2 separate regions of the Homo sapiens genome follow, and region 1 is linked to region 2. Evidence: promoter capture Hi-C in 16 types of primary human blood cells and fetal thymus (Javierre and others, 2016). All regions are on one chromosome and are shown on one strand. The core of a region is centred on a gene start or on the middle of the fragment in contact, and the rest is flanking DNA. Distances in the headings are between cores, read along the strand shown. Region 1 overlaps LOC105373436 (a long non-coding RNA gene). Region 2 holds the start of NBAS (NBAS subunit of NRZ tethering complex).

Region 1 (7,708 bases), core at 3,171-5,670, 2.5 Mb before region 2:
ATATATATATATGGTCTCTCTCTCTCTATATATATATCCATATATATATATACACACACACACACACACATATATATATATATATATTTGTCTTGTTCCCACTGTCAGGGGAAAATAACATATTTATGTGTGTGTGTGTGTGTGTATATATATGTGTGTGTATATATGTGTGTATATATGTATATATATATACACTCATATATACACACACATATATACACACACATATATATACACACACACACATATATATATATATATGGAGTTTATTAAGTTTTAACTCACACGATCGCAAGGTCCCACAATAGGCCATCTGCAAGCTGAGGACCAAGTCCCAAAATTGAAGAACTTGAAGGCCGACGTTCAAGGGCAAGAAGCATCCAGCGTGGAGAAAGATGTAGGCTGGGAGTCTAGGCCAGTCTTGCCTCTTCATGTTTTTCCTGCCTGCATTACATTGGCTGGCAGCTAATAGATGGTGCCCACCCAGATTAAAGGTGGGTCTGCCTTCTCCAGCCCACTGACTCAAATGTTAATCTCTTTTGGAAACACCGTCACAGAAACACCCATAATCAATACTTTGCATCCTTCAATCCAATCAAGATGACACTCAGTATTAACCATCAGAGAGCTTAAGGGAATAAAACATGTGGGAAGAAGTTACTTCTCAACTTTCCAGAATAGCTCTTAGAAGTGTAGGAGAGATTGGAGTCTCTTAAGTAGGTAGACTAAATTGGCTTTAACAGGAGAAAAACAGGAGGTGGAAAATAGAGTAGAAATTCTGAGGTTATGTGTGGGACTACAGACTTGTGGCAGAGAAGAATCACATATTACCTGGAAATTGAGAGGGGTCCACCCACCAAGTGTGTGAATGCGCAGGAGGGTGTTTAGTTAGTTAGATTTCTAAAGCCTCGTTCTGCTCAATCCCATGGGATTAAAGCTGTGGGGCTGATCCCGTAGTGTATATCAAAGGATTAGGAGCCAAAGGGTAACACACAATGAAAAATAGATGATTTGAGTTTATCATTTGAACAAATAGAAAAAACATAATGCTTAAAAAAATTGAGAATTAAGATCCTGCAGAGGCACAGGGAATTATTAAGTGAAATTACACACTCTTTTATGTGGACTATGTAACTGATAAATTTATGTAGAAACAGATTATCATCAAAAGAAGAAATTATCATTCTAAAAATCTGAATAAAACAGCTCCACACAAGTATAAAGGGTGATTATTAAATAAGCTGTTCTAAACTAAACTAAAAATGCTTAATTTTGATTAATGAGTCAATCATGAAAGTTTTTTTCTGGTCAGCTGAATTCAAGGCTTGGGTATTTATCCCAACCTCTCTAAGCTCTATCTGAGCACAATTCTTTTGCCCCAAAATCTACAACTTAACGAGGGAGATGACATATTAATAGGAAACTGCAATTCAACTTAATAACAACTTTGATAAAAGGCATTATTGGTTACAATGAAAACACTGAAGGGCAATGAGTCCAATTTGATTGTTAGGTCAGAGTTTCTCAAAGAGGTTTCACATAAGCTGTATGATGAAAGATATATCATAACTGACAGCACAGAAAAAAAACAGATTGTTGGAAACAGTTAACTCAAAGTACTGATGGGGAGCATTCTTTTCCACTTTGTAAAAGTGCATGCATCCCCTGACAAAGGTTCCTACTGCAAGAGCTATCTCCAGCCAGGCAAACGGGATACAGGCGAAAAAGGATAAATAAACACCCCCAGCACTAACAGTGAGTCTGTTCTTCAAGAAGCGTTCATTATGTTAGAGCTGAGAGTAGAAAAACAGGGTTCACAGTTTTCCAAGTTCACAGGCTGCTGACTTGTTCGTCTTTGTTTTAGTCGGCGATCATAAGAATTCTATCAAATTCTACCCAGTGTAAACAGGAATCAAAATATGCCTAATATTGAAAGCATTTTTTAAAAAAATAAATTATTTAGGCCGGGTATGGTGGCTCATGCCTGTAATTCCGGCACTTTGGGAGGCCAAGATGGGCGGATCACTTGAGGTTGGGAGTTCGAGACCAGACTGACCAACATGGAGAAACCCCATCTCTACTAAAAACACGTAATTAGCCAGGCGTGGTGGCACATGCCTGTAATCCCAGCTACCCGGGGAGGTAGAGGCAGGAGAATCACTTGAACTCGGGAGGCAGAGGTTTCAGTGAGCCAAGATTGCACCATTGCACTCCAGCCAGGGCAACAGAGCAAGACTCCATCTCAAAAAATATATAAATAATAATAATAATGAAATAAAATAAAAAATAAATTATTTAAACTCAACCTAAGTAAACCAATTCTATAACATTTTCTGAACTATTAACTGTGCTGGCTTTGGAATGCGGAGGTCACAGAGCGTAGCAAAACCGCAGCTCCAGATTTCAGAGCATTTCCAAGTTATCCTTCTCTTTGGAGTGAGGACAATGATAATCGGGAAATGTTGAAGAAATAAGAAGAAGACAAGAAAACCACTGAATTCTCAAAGGGCTAACACAGAATTCTGAAAGGGCTAAAAAGTTTCATTTAAGAAGTAGCATTTGTATTAAATGTTACCAAAACATGTCTTATGTATTTTTGCTTAATGGATATTTGACGTCTATGCATTATGCAAATGTGGTCATGTGTGAACAGGAAGGAAATTTTCTTATTTGTGTCACAAGGAAATTCAGCCAATATTCACTTTAGTTATTTCAGAGCAACACTTGCAATCCTTCTAAATATGAAACACCAAATAATGTATGTATTTATTCCCATACTCTGAGGGAGACTGAATATGAATAATTGGGTCTCACATTGGAATAATTGAATTCTAAATTAAAAGAACTTTACAGTAATAAATGAGTCTAATAAAATAGTTATTTTGAACCATCTATTTTTAAAGAATGCTTGGGGTATTGCTGATATGTGTAACAGGAAGAACTTTTGAAATTTTGCCCAAGGCATAGGATTGTAATGATTTTTCAAGGACCTCAATATCCATAAACATTAATGATCCTATAGAACAGCCTGGACTCCTTAGTCCAGTCAAAAGATAATAGACTTTGTCTTCATAAGTATGAGTTTAAATGCATACACCTTCACTTACTAGCCTACTACTTTGGGCAATGTATTAACCTCTATGAGTCTCGTTCTTAAATTGTAAAAGGCACATAATATACATTGAAGGATTAATATGAAGACTATAAATAATATGTTACCACCATGTTCCTGACCCTGCCAGTGTGTATCAATATCACATTTTCTTTAATACTCTAATGATACTAGTTCTATCTTGCCAAATTAACAGAAACTCTAGTCTCTTTCCCAAAGCGCAATGCCCTCAATATTTCTGAGAATCCCTAAGTTTGCCTATACTTGTCCATACGTCAGACATTCTTATTGTTTCTTTGTTGCCACTTGTCAAAAATGCAGACTCTGATAAAGTCTTGCAATAGGACCCAGTTGCCAGATCGTCTTTTACCAGAAAAATTCATTATTTAGTCTCAGGTCAAATCCAGCTGCTAGTTCACCAGATTTTGTGGGATGCCAGTGCCTCTGATCCTAGTGGTGAAGCTCTAGCAGCCTGCAATGATCTGGCTGTTACTATGCTATTCACTTCCACTGGTGCCTCTTACAAATCTGATTATTTACTCAGGTTCTATCAGTTCTCAAGCTATAAGAATTCTATCACGACTAAACTGCCGAGGCCCTAAGTGGATTTTTAAAAATTTGATGTGTTCCCTCAATTACTAATATACTTTGCATCTATAGATTTGCCTATTCTGGATGTTTCCTATTAGCAGAATCCTACAATACATGGTTCTCTGTAACCAGTTTCCTTACTTCGGAATTTGGATAAACGTTTAAATGTTTCATCTAAGAAACCACTGCTTAATCCAAGGTCACAAATATCCCAATGTTTTCTTCTGAGAGTTTATAGTTTTATCTCTTCTATTAAATTCTTTAATGCATTTTAAGTTAGTTTTTACATGTTGTATGAAGTAGGTATCAACTTCATTCTTTTGTATGTGGATACCCAGTTATCCCAGCACCATGTGCTGGAAATACTACTTTCTCCTTGTTTCCCTGTGGAATATGCTGTCAAAAATCCATTGATTGTAAATGGGAAGGGTGAATTATGGACCCTCAGTGCTTTGCCGTTGATCTGCATATTGATCCTGATGCCACTGCTACACTGTCTTTATTATTGTAGCTTTTTGGTACGTTTTGAAATAGCAAAGTGGAATCCTCCTACTTTGTCCTTCTGTTTCAACATTGTTTTGGCTACTCTTGGTCACTTGAATTTATATATGAATTTTAGAATAAGCTTGTCAATTTCTGCAAAAGTTCAGCTAAGATTTTGATAGGAATTACATTGAGCATATAGATGAATTTGAGGAGTATTGCTGTCTTAAAATTATTAAGTCATCTCATCCATGAATATAGGATATATTTCCGTTTATTTAGTTTTCCTTTAATGACTTCAAACAATATTTTTAGTTTTCAGAGTATAAGCTTTGCACTTCCTTTGTTAAACTTATTCTCTTGGATGCTATTTTAAAGAAATTGTTGGAGCAGCCAAGACGGCCGAATAGAAATGGCTTTGCTCTGCAGCTCCCACCAAAAAGGATAAAAACAGTGAGTGAATTCTGCATCTTCAGTTGAGGTACCAAGGATCGCTCATGAGAACCAAGTGGTTATGGCGACCCACGGAGAGCGAGGAAAAGGAGGGTGGAGCAAGGGCTCACCTGGGAGCTGCACGAGGCAAAGGGAGCTCCTTCTTCCAGCCAAGGGAGGCGGTGAGGGATTTTGCTCCTTCTCCCTGAAAACCCCACTTTTCCCACAGATCTGGCTGGAGGAGATCCCTCCTGATTTGCAACCTGCAAATCAGGCGGTCCCCTTGTGAGCCCACACCAACCAGGATTCTTGGCTCCCAAGCATAGAGCAGTGCAGACTCTTGGCGGCTGCTCAGGTAGGCGGCGGCTGGAGCAGGCACTGAGACCCCGAGTTTCCCAGGGGGCAGGGACAGCCACCATCACTGCGCCTCTAGTCGGCTGTTTTCCCCTGCCGCCAGCGCCAGCGCGGTTTGTACTGGGAGCAATTCCCCACAGTGCAGCACAGCGGCTGGGGCAGTTCGTGGCTGGACTGTTTCCTTAAGCAGGACCCTGATCCACTCCCCCTCACTGGGTGGGACCTCCCTGCAGGAAATTCAGCATCCCCAGGCAGGCATTTATGAACAAAACTCTGATATCCCTGAGAGGAGCCCCTAGGAGGAGGTGCAGCTGCAGTATCATGAATCTTAGTCTTATCTGCCTGCTTACTGGCTCTGGAGAGTCAGGGCAGCCCAGGCAATGGCGCAGCACACCTGCTCCAACTAGGGGCAGTCAGATTGCTTATTTAAGCAGGTCCCTGATCCCTGTCCTCCTGACTGGGTGAGACCTCCCAACAGGAGTCTCCAGACACCTCATACAGGAGCGTTCCAGCTGGCATCAAGTCTGTGCCCCTCCGGGACAGAGCTCCCAGAAGAAGGAGCAGGCTGCCATCTTTGCTGTTCTGCAGCCTCTATTAGTTATATTTTCAGGAGCAGGAGGGACGCAGGAAAACAGGGTCTGGAGTGGACCCTCAGCAAACTGCAGCAGCCCTATGGAAAAGGGCATTGACCGCTAAAAGAAAAACAAAGAGAAAGCAACAACAACAACAACAACATCAATGAAAAAGACCCCACAAAAACTCCATCCAAAGGTCAGCAGCCTCAAAGATCAAAGGTAGATGAACCCAAGAAGATGAGAAAGAATCAGTGTAAAAGTGCTGAAAACTCTAAAAGGCAGAGTGCCTATTCTCCAAATGATCACAACACATCTCCCTCAATGGCACAGAACTGGGCTGAGGTTGAGATGGTTGAACTGACAAAAGTAGGCTTCATAAGATGGGTAATAATGTACTTCACTTAGCTAAAGGAGTACGTTCTAACTTATTGCAAAGAAGCTAAGAACCATGATAAAACATCAGAGGAGTTGTTAACCAGAATAACCAGTTGAGAGAGGAACATAGATAACCTGAAGGAGCTGAAAAACACAACGTGAGAACTTCACAATGCAAACACAAATATCAATAGCCGAATAGACCAAACTGAAGAAGGGATATCAGAGCTTGAAGACTATCTTGCTGAAATAAGGTAGGCAGACAAGATTAGAGAAAAAATAATGATAAGGAATGCATAAAACCTCCAAGAACTATGGCATTGCATTAAAAGACTGAACTTACAGCTGATAGGGGTACCTGAAAGAGACAGGGAGAATAGGACCAAGTTGGAAAACACACTTCAGGACATTATCCAGGAAAACTTCCTCAACCTGGTAAGATAGGGCAACATTCAAATTCAGGAAATTCAGAGAACCCCAGTAAGATACTCCATGAGACGATCAACCCCAAAACACATAATCATCAGATTCTTCAAGATCAAAATGAAGGAAAAAATGTTAAGGGCATCCAGAGACAAAGACCGGGTCACATATAAATGGAAGTCCATCAGACTAACAGCAAACCTCTCAGTGGAAATCCTACAAGCCAGAAGAGATTGGGGTCCAATATTCAACATTCTTTAAAAAAGAATTTCCAACTTAGAATTTTATATCCAGCCAAACTAAGCTTCATAAGCAAAGGAGAAAATAATCTTTTTTTTTTTTTTTTTTTTTTTTCTGAGATGGAGTTTCTCTCTTGTTGACCAGGCTGGAGTGCAATGGCATGATCTCGGCTCACTGCAACCTCTGCCTCCCAGGTTCAAGTGATTCTCCTGCCTCAGCCTCCCAAGTAGCTGGGATTACAGGTGCTCACCACTATGCTCAGCTAATTTTTGTATTTCTAGTAGAGACAAGGTTTCACCATGTTGGCCAGGTTGGTCTCGAACTCCTGACCTCAGGTGACACCCACCTCGGCCTTCCAAAGTGCTGGGATTACAGGCATGAGCCACTGTGCTGAGCCCGAAATAAAATCTTTTTTAGACAAGCAAATGGTGAGGGAATTCATCACCCCTAGGCCTGCCTTGCAAGATCTCCTGAAGGAAGCACTACATATGAAAAGGAAAAACCATTACCAGCCACTACAAAAATACACTGAAGTACACAGGCCAATGACACTATGAGGCAACTACATAAACAAGTCTGCAAAATAATCAGCTAACATCATAATGACAAGATCAAATTCACATATAAACAGTATTACCCTCAAATGTAAATTATCTAAATGCCCCAATTAAAAGACACAGAATAGCAAGCTTGATTAAGAGTCAAGATCCATCAGTAGCCTTTATTCAAGAGACCCATTTCACATGCAAAGACCACACATAGACTCAAAATAAAAGGATGGAGGAAAATTTACCAAGGAAATGGAAAACAGAAAAGGCAGGGTTTGCAATCCCAGTTTCCAACAAAACAGACTTTAAGCCAACTACGATAAAAAAAAAAAAAAGACAAAGAAAAGCATTACATAATGGTAAACTGGTCAATTCAACAAGAAGAACTAACTATCCTAAATATGTATACACCCAATACAGGAGCACTGAGATTCATAAAACAAATTGTTAGATGTACAAAAAGACTTAGACTCCCACACAATAATAGTGGGAGACTTTAACAATCCAATGTCATTATTAGATAGATCAGCGAGACAGAAAATTAAAGATATTCAGGATTTGAACACACCTTTGGA
Region 2 (7,840 bases), core at 56-2,555:
GGCTACAGAGGAAAAAAATACAAACTTTGGGCTGAAAAATGAGTCGTTTCTCCAGCAAAGAAACACTCAGAAAAAATGTAAGATAACTCACATGGGCTGGACTACATAATCTTTAATAAAGGTTCTTTTCGATCTGGCTGCTTCCTCTGGGTCTAAAACAGTAACTGGCACGTGTTAAGCACTCAATAAATATCTGTTAAATAAACATGGATCCAAAAAATAATAATAATAAAAAATAAAATAAAATAAACATGGATCCATGGTTCCTACTCTTCATCACAGACCCGGGAGGCCTTCACTACCAAACAACTGATAATCCCAAGATCCAGTCCATAAATTATCAACCTCTATAACCCTTCTGTAGCGGAGATCCCAATCCCAGTCAGCAGCTCTTTACTCTGCACTTCCGTGGCATTTTGCTCACATCGCTAACTATAGCGCATAAAACGCTAGGTTATGAAAAACGTTTACGGGACTGTCTCCCCTCTAGACGAGAAGCTCCACGAAAACATATTCATCTCTGTATCCTTAGCACCTAGCACAGCACCTGTGACACCGAGACAGACGAACGGACACGCACACCCTTATTAAATGCTCTTTTATTGAAACACACAAGACCTGGCGCGATCCAGCCCCCAGTATGGGTAAAGGCTCAGATTCTGCGCTCTGCACCAGCCTGGCAGATGCTGCAGACTGTAAGGTCCTGGAAAATTCTCCCATCGCAGTTGAGCGTCGGCCCAGACTAGCCCTAGCCAGACCGCGAGAAGGGACCACTGAGGGTCCAGATAGGAGAAAGGACCCTCGAGTCCAGCGCTGTGCCTTCCCCTCCTAATACAGAGAGCGACACTAACAATCCCCTCTCCTCCCAATACAGAGAGCGAAACTGAGAACCAAAGTGGGATCGTACGCTCCCCAGAGCACGAAGTTCCAGCCCCCAACAACCGAATTCTGAGCCCAGGAAGAATCTCAGGGACCACCACCCCACCCCGCCCTAGACCCCCGCTAGCCCAAGGTGCCGTTGCCAAGGCGACCGCACAAGCCAACCGGCCCTAGTCCCCCACCCACCCGTCTCCACTCCCCTACGTGGCTCCTGCTACGTGGCTCTACCCACGAAGCGCCCGCGCCAAGCTGGCTGCTGCTGTAGATGGGCCTGGTTCACCTGTACTTCAGTCTCCGGTGGCCACTCGGTGTTGACCAACAAGTCATAGAGAATCGTCTCCTCCTCACCCTCTGCAGTGCCTGGACTCAAAGCCGGCCCTGACTCGGGGGCCGCCATGTTCGCCGAGGACTCAGGCAGCGGAGGAGTGTCTCTACGGAATCCCTCACAGGACAAGCTTCTCTATCCGCGGCCGCTTTTGTTTCACGGCAAGGAAATGCTAGGTTAACCCTTTTATGAGTAGGAAGGACAGGGACTATTGCTTGTCTTGGGAACGACTTGTGTCCCGGTCCTGATACACTCCTTGTTCATTAATCTACATGAGATCGGCCAAGTCATTGAGCCTCTCTTATAACTCAGTTTCCATAAAACAGAAATGGTAAAGGTACCCCACTGAAATGCTAATGTTCATTTGTATATTCTTTGCCTAACACGTAGAGAGAGTTCAAACAGTGGTTTTAAAATAAACAACTAAAGTTATCCAATGAAAGGTAGCAGAGGAAGGATGCTACAGGAGCTCAGAAAAGGCAACGAAGGCCAGAGTCTGCAGGGATTTCCTGGAGGACGTGGAGCTTGTCCCTGCGTCTTTAACAATAGGCAGAATTTTAATCTACTGGAGAAGCATTTCAAGTAGCGGGAAATGGAATGAGCAGAGACAGAGGCAGAAATACAGAGTTGAAAGAACTCTTTCAACGTGTCGCCAGTGAGTGACGACTTTCTCAGTGTGGGAGTAAAAGAATTTACCAAGACAGTGGTAGATAAAGAAAGACAGATTAAAGAAAGTATGAAAGTTCGTTGCCAGGGAGCAGCGGGCCGACTCAGCAGAGGAGGAGCTCATTGCTAGGAAACAAAGGCTTGTTGAGAATTTTATAGACTGGAACTTGGAGTGATTGATAACACCAGGTAGCAGGGAGTTAACTTGCTTTTTTTTTTTCTTTCTTTCTTTTTTTTTTTTTTTTTTTGTCAGCTGAAGTGTTTCAGAAATTGAGGCATTTGAAGGTAAGCAGGAAGTTTGTGAGTTAAGTACGTTATCTGGGTAGAAGGGCCATATGTCCTGGGCCATAAAGAAAAGTAGACCTATGGCTTATTTGTTTCTTCCTTTTGTTTATATGTTTTGGACCATGAAGAAAGACAGACGTATAGCTAATTTGCCTTATCTCTTTGTTTTTCCCTGCTCCCACTAGCCTGCCTTTTTTTTTTTCCTAATTAGTACTCAACAAGACGGGTGAATAGAACCCAAGTTGAGAAAGGGTGTAGGGGCAATAAAGTTGAAATAATAGGTTGAGAACCCGCATGGAGGGAGCGAAAAGGTCAACCCCATTTGTTCATTCATTCATTCATTCAACAAATACCTCTTTGTGGACAGTTATAAGCAGAGCCTACTGTAACATGAATGAATATATACTGTACAAAGTATTACACTGTTTCACATCAAAAGAAACACAAATACTGAATATCCCTTGAGATAATTATATTCATGATATCCATCAAGATGCATTAGGCGGTGATGCAATTAAAAGCCTCTGCTGGGAAGCCTCTAACCAGCTCCCATTTCTCTCAAAGTTTAATGACCTCAAAGCCCTACGTCATCTGCCTGCTCCCCTAAATCTCACACCTCATTTCCTGCTCCCCCTACTACCTTCAGCCACACTGGCTCTATTTCTGAACACACCAGACACACATCAACTTCAGGAGTTCTGCAAAGCCTGTCCCCTCCACTTGGAAGGCTTTCTACCAGATGTTTACCTGGTTCCTCCCTTATCTCCTTCAAGTTTTTGCTCAAATGTCGTCTCTCTCTGAAGCCTACCTTGACTGCTCATTTTTAAATTTGCAATGACCATTCTCCAACTCCAGCTTTCCAGAGCTGCTCTATTATTTTTTCCATTACACTTGTCATCACTTAAATGGCTATACAGTATATTTGCTTATTATCTGTCTCCATTCACTAAAAGGTAAGCCATGCCAGGTGCTCTATCTATATGCATGCAAATGCTATATCCATCCCTGCTATATCCCCAGAATTTATAACAGTGCCTGGCATAGAGCAGAGGACAAAATATATATTATTTGTTGAATAAATGACAGACTTCCCAGAAAATCTTTTACACATTGTCTCCCCATAGTATTTCTCTGCATAGCAGCTGTGCCCTTCAATCAAACCCCTCATTGTGAACACCAGACGTGTCTTCTCCCTACCGCACAAGGCTGACAAACTGTATACCTCCGGGGAGCCCCGCCCACATTGCATGCGGTAGAACATGAAGAGGCAGGAACACCATGCACATGGAATGCGGTGTGAGGGCTGGTTACTGGAGTCCTCCAGTACCTCAGTACAACCCCACCTATTTCTCCACACCAAGTTTCCTTGGCTCTTTATTCCTCTGTCTCATCCTTTCTCAGATAGATATTGGGGTTGCTTTCTGTTTCATCACTCTCTTCACCACTTTCACTCAATCTGTACAACCACGGCCAGGAGATAGCTGGTCAAACTGGCAAAGGATGCTTCCTTCTTAGCTGGTGTGCAAAGGGGACCACTGCAAATACACCATGAAGAATTTATTTATTTTACCATCATCACACTATTTTTGTTTGTTTGTTTTTGTTTTTGAAACAGGGTCTCACTCTTTCACTGAGGCCAGAGTGCAGTGGCACAAAGAGAGCTAACTGAAATCTCTACTTCCTGGGCTCAAGCAATCCTCCCACCTCAGCCTCCTGAGTTGCTGGGACCACAGGTGCATGCCACCATGCTGGGCTAACTTTATTATTTTTTGTAGAGATGGGGGGTCTTGGACTTCTGGGCTCAAGTGATCTGCCTCGGCCTCCCACAGTGCAGGGATTACAGGCACGCACCACCATGCCCAGCCTCACACCATGTTAATTGTTTTATCCATCCTCATCCATACCCCACTTACCATAGCATGTACAAAAGGACAGAAAACATAAACTCATGCCTGGCAGAGAGCTTCTACTCTGAAGAAACAACAACCGAAGTGTCACAGGATGAATCTATGCTATTTGGAGAGGGAGTATACATTTAACTTGAAGCAATCCCTGGAAGAAAAATTCTACTAGCAGAGATGCTCTGAGCAGGTAAGTGGGTTCTTAAACCTTCAGCACCACTAGTTAAAATCCAGAAGAGTTCCTGGAAGGGGAGAAATGTGAGGTGACCAATAAAAGGGAAGAAGATGGTAAGAATATGTATGCCACAAGAAGAACTCCAAATGTTGAATATCAGACACGGGTTGGAAAAGAAAAGACAAAGATCTGATCAAGTTCAACTGAATCAAAGGAATAGGATGACTTAAAACAGATTGAGTGGCTGAAGCCAAATTGCTACTTGGTCTTATTTACAGTGACTATATAGCAAAGTATCCAAACTGGGATATTTTTGAAAAGAAAAAGCCATGATTTTAATAGTTATGCTAGGACAACAAGCATGAAACAGGGCTGTCATGGGCAAACTGAGATGATTGTCACACTAATCCTAAACAGCAGAGTGGGTAATTTAATGAAGAGGTGGTGAGCGTTTCACAAGGATAGCAAGACTCTTCTGTTCGTCATTATTCTCTTCTTTCTTCCCTCGTGCTTGTAGTGACACTGGTCATTTTTGTCTGCCCAGGCCCTTTGCTTCCTTCGGAGACTGTTCTAGCTGCTCTTCATTCACTCAGTCAGATAATTCCTAGTGGGGCCGCCAATCCCCAAACTCTGCCCCCTTGACCCAAAGAACTCCATTCCTGCTACTTTGAGCATCAGGTTGAGAATCCTTCCCTGGGATTTTTTTTTTTTTTTAAGTGGAAATGGAGGAAAAGGCTCCTTGCCTTTTTGGGTCACAGAGTTTGAAGAATATTGGGGTTATTAGCATCCATCTTATTCATTCCAGAGAGAAAGCCTGTCTATATAGTGAAAGAATGAAACCAATACATTGAAAAAAACTGAGAAGAGAAAGAGGTAGAGACTTCATCTGATACAAGCATGCTTGAAACAAGAGACACCTGTATGATTCCATCTTCCCAGGTAAGTGATCTAGTTCATTCTCTTTTATGCTTCAACTAGTTTGAGTTTCTAGGCATTGAAACCACCCCTCTCTTGGTGTTTCTACCAGTGGAGTTTGCATTATTTATTTTACCTTAAAATATAGAATATCAGACACGGGTTGGAATAAGGATTTTACCTTATTTATTTATGTACGTATTTATTTAAGACAGGCTCTTGCTGTGTCACCCAGGCTGGAGTGCAGTGGCGCAAACACAGCTCACTGTAGCCTCAACCTCCTGGATGCAAGCGATCCTCTTGTCTCAGCCTCCCAAATAGCTGGGACTACATGCACGTGTCACCACACCCAGCTAAAGATTTACCAAATTTAGAATCTGTATGTTGTGTATGGATCTCTGCAATGTTGCTTCTGAATTGACAGATTGGTGTTATTAGTTAATAATTGAGAGTGTTCATAGCTTACTGAGCTTTTCCATCCTCACAGCCACTGCTAAAATTGACAGACTCAGAAGACAGAGTCTATCTCTATTTCACAGATAAGAATATTAAAGCTTAGAGAAATCCAAGATTACAACAGAGCTAAAATTCAGACAAGGTCCTCAGGTCTTGATCCCGTGCTTTTTCTTTAAACTACCACATGTTACCGAGAACGTCATGGAAAAGATTATTTAAAAACATAGATGGAGCACTCAGATGGTTCAAAGTGAAAATAAACAGTTAAGGATGACCAGGAGTACCAACACGTGGAACTGGGGTATTATCAACCTGTCAAAGGAAAATTAAATACATTATATGTAAGAGTTTGGTTGACAAATACTATTGTGATCATCTAATCAACTCCTTAATTTAGCTGAAAGTCCATCTCTGGTTCAAAAATATTTGAAATCATGAATAAGTCTTTTTTTTTTCTTTTAAATGTTTGGAGAGACAGAGTCTTGCTATGTTGCCCAGACTGTTCTTGAACTCCTGGCCTCAAGTGAGCCTCGCACCTCTCAGCCTCCCAAAGTGCTGACATTGCAGGTGTGAGCCACTGCACCCAGCCTCTTTTCTCTCTCTCTTAGTTTCTTTTTTATGAATAAATCATTCTGAAGAGAAAAATTATGTTTTCCAAATAACCAACACAAATGGTAACTGTAAACTGCTTAAGGAAATAAGATAAATAAAATCTGAGACAGTTTCAAAGTAGGCATCATCATCATTATCATCATCACTATGTTTTGTGTACCTACCCTGCTTCAAGCACTATACCAGGTATCTACAAGTAGATATAGATGTACTTTAGTAAACTGAGGCTCTAAATCACTGTGACCCAACCAAGGTCACATGCTGGTAATGGTAAAGCCACAAATGAAATAGTTTTTGTCTAACAGAGAAGGTACTACGATTTACCCACTTCAAAGAGTAGTGATCTGATGATGATATAAGCCTTTGATGAAAAGGAAATAAATTTAGAAAAATTTTCCTATTTCTTCCTAGCCTTATAGCATATTAAGTGTACTTCAACTGAACTGAATATAATCCTCATTCACTTTGCTGATGACCACAGACATTCTTTCTTAGAATTAGACAAAAACTTAACATCATCTCACATAAAGGAATCATTTTTTGGCCAGGCGTGGTGGCTCACTCCTGTAATCCCAGCGCTTTGGGAGGCCGAGGCGGGCAGATTACCTGAGGTCAGGAGTTCGAGACCAGCCTGGCCAACATGGTGAAACCCCATCTCTACTAAAAAAAAATAAAAATACAAAAATTAGGCAGTCACGGTGGCACACCCCTGTAATCCCAGCTATTCGGGAGGCTGAGGCAGGAGAATTGCTTGAGCCCGGGAGACAGAGGTTGCAATGAGCCGAGATTGTGCCGCTGCACTCCAGCCTGGCCGACAGAGCAAGACTCTGTCTCAAAGAAAAAAAAAAGGGAATCATTTTTCTTCTCTTAACTCATCAATGTATAGCTGTCATTAGCTCATAGATTCATTAGTAGGAGCTCAGCCTTTTAGCTCCTATCAGTTAAAAAGTCCATTAAGCTAAAAGCCATTAATGATTCAGCATTTAACCCTTTTATGCTTTTCAATATTAGAGACAAAAGAGATTAGATCATCATATGAAGTTGCTTCTGTTTTAAAGTTGAAATTGCATAGTAAAATTGAATTTGGGCATTTAAACACTACCTGTTATAGGTGTCATACATTTGTATTTGATTGGATGGTGCACTAGCTCTTTATGAAGAATATAAATTTTAATCATAATATAAAATAACACTGAGAGCAATTCAAGAAATTTTATTTCCTCTAGAAAGCCTGCAGAATCCCAATCAATCCTTCCATAAATATTCTAAGACTTTTATAATATATCTTGGCAGCCAAAATAGATATAAAGCTCATGCATGGTTTTAGCAAAGAAACAATGTCCAACCCCTTACTGAAATCTCATTTACACTAATTAGCAATGCAATTCAAACAGACCATTTCCTCCCCCCAATTTTCTCACTCACAAATTATACAGAACATCAAACTGGGAAATAGGCCCTACCAGAGGCACATACAGTAACAAATGCATAAATCAGCAGCAAGTAAGTGCAAGAAGGGGACTAATACATTGGTAAAAATACACTGGTAGGCTGGGCATGGTGCCTCATGCCTGTAATCCCAACACTTTGGGAGGCCAAGGCAGGCAGATCACCTGAGGTCAGGAG

What was found. Contacts are between HindIII fragments. The CHiCAGO score rates a contact against its expected background, and 5 or more counts as called.
Region 1: a fragment that was not itself captured here is called in contact with the fragment with the promoter of NBAS in region 2 in 2 of 17 cell types (endothelial precursors and M2 macrophages); the score reaches 8.0 in endothelial precursors.

Annotation. Positions count from the first base shown.
Region 1 is chr2:13,035,219-13,042,926 of GRCh38, forward strand. All of the region lies in intron 1 of LOC105373436 (a long non-coding RNA gene), which reads left to right. Among named protein-coding and RNA genes, the nearest start is that of MIR3125, 300 kb to the left of the region's middle. The HindIII fragment of the contact is 188 bases long and covers 4,327-4,514 here.
Region 2 is chr2:15,560,029-15,567,868 of GRCh38, forward strand. NBAS (NBAS subunit of NRZ tethering complex) reads right to left here and starts at 1,306. Exons shown (of 52, transcript NM_015909.4): 1 at 1,160-1,306. The coding sequence starts at 1,276. It overlaps LOC105373440 (a long non-coding RNA gene), which reads left to right and starts at 2,120. Exons shown (of 4, transcript XR_001739297.2): 1 at 2,120-2,155; 2 at 4,074-4,246; 3 at 5,037-5,170. RefSeq lists an enhancer at 1,096-1,505. The HindIII fragment of the contact is 4,253 bases long and covers 1-1,332 here.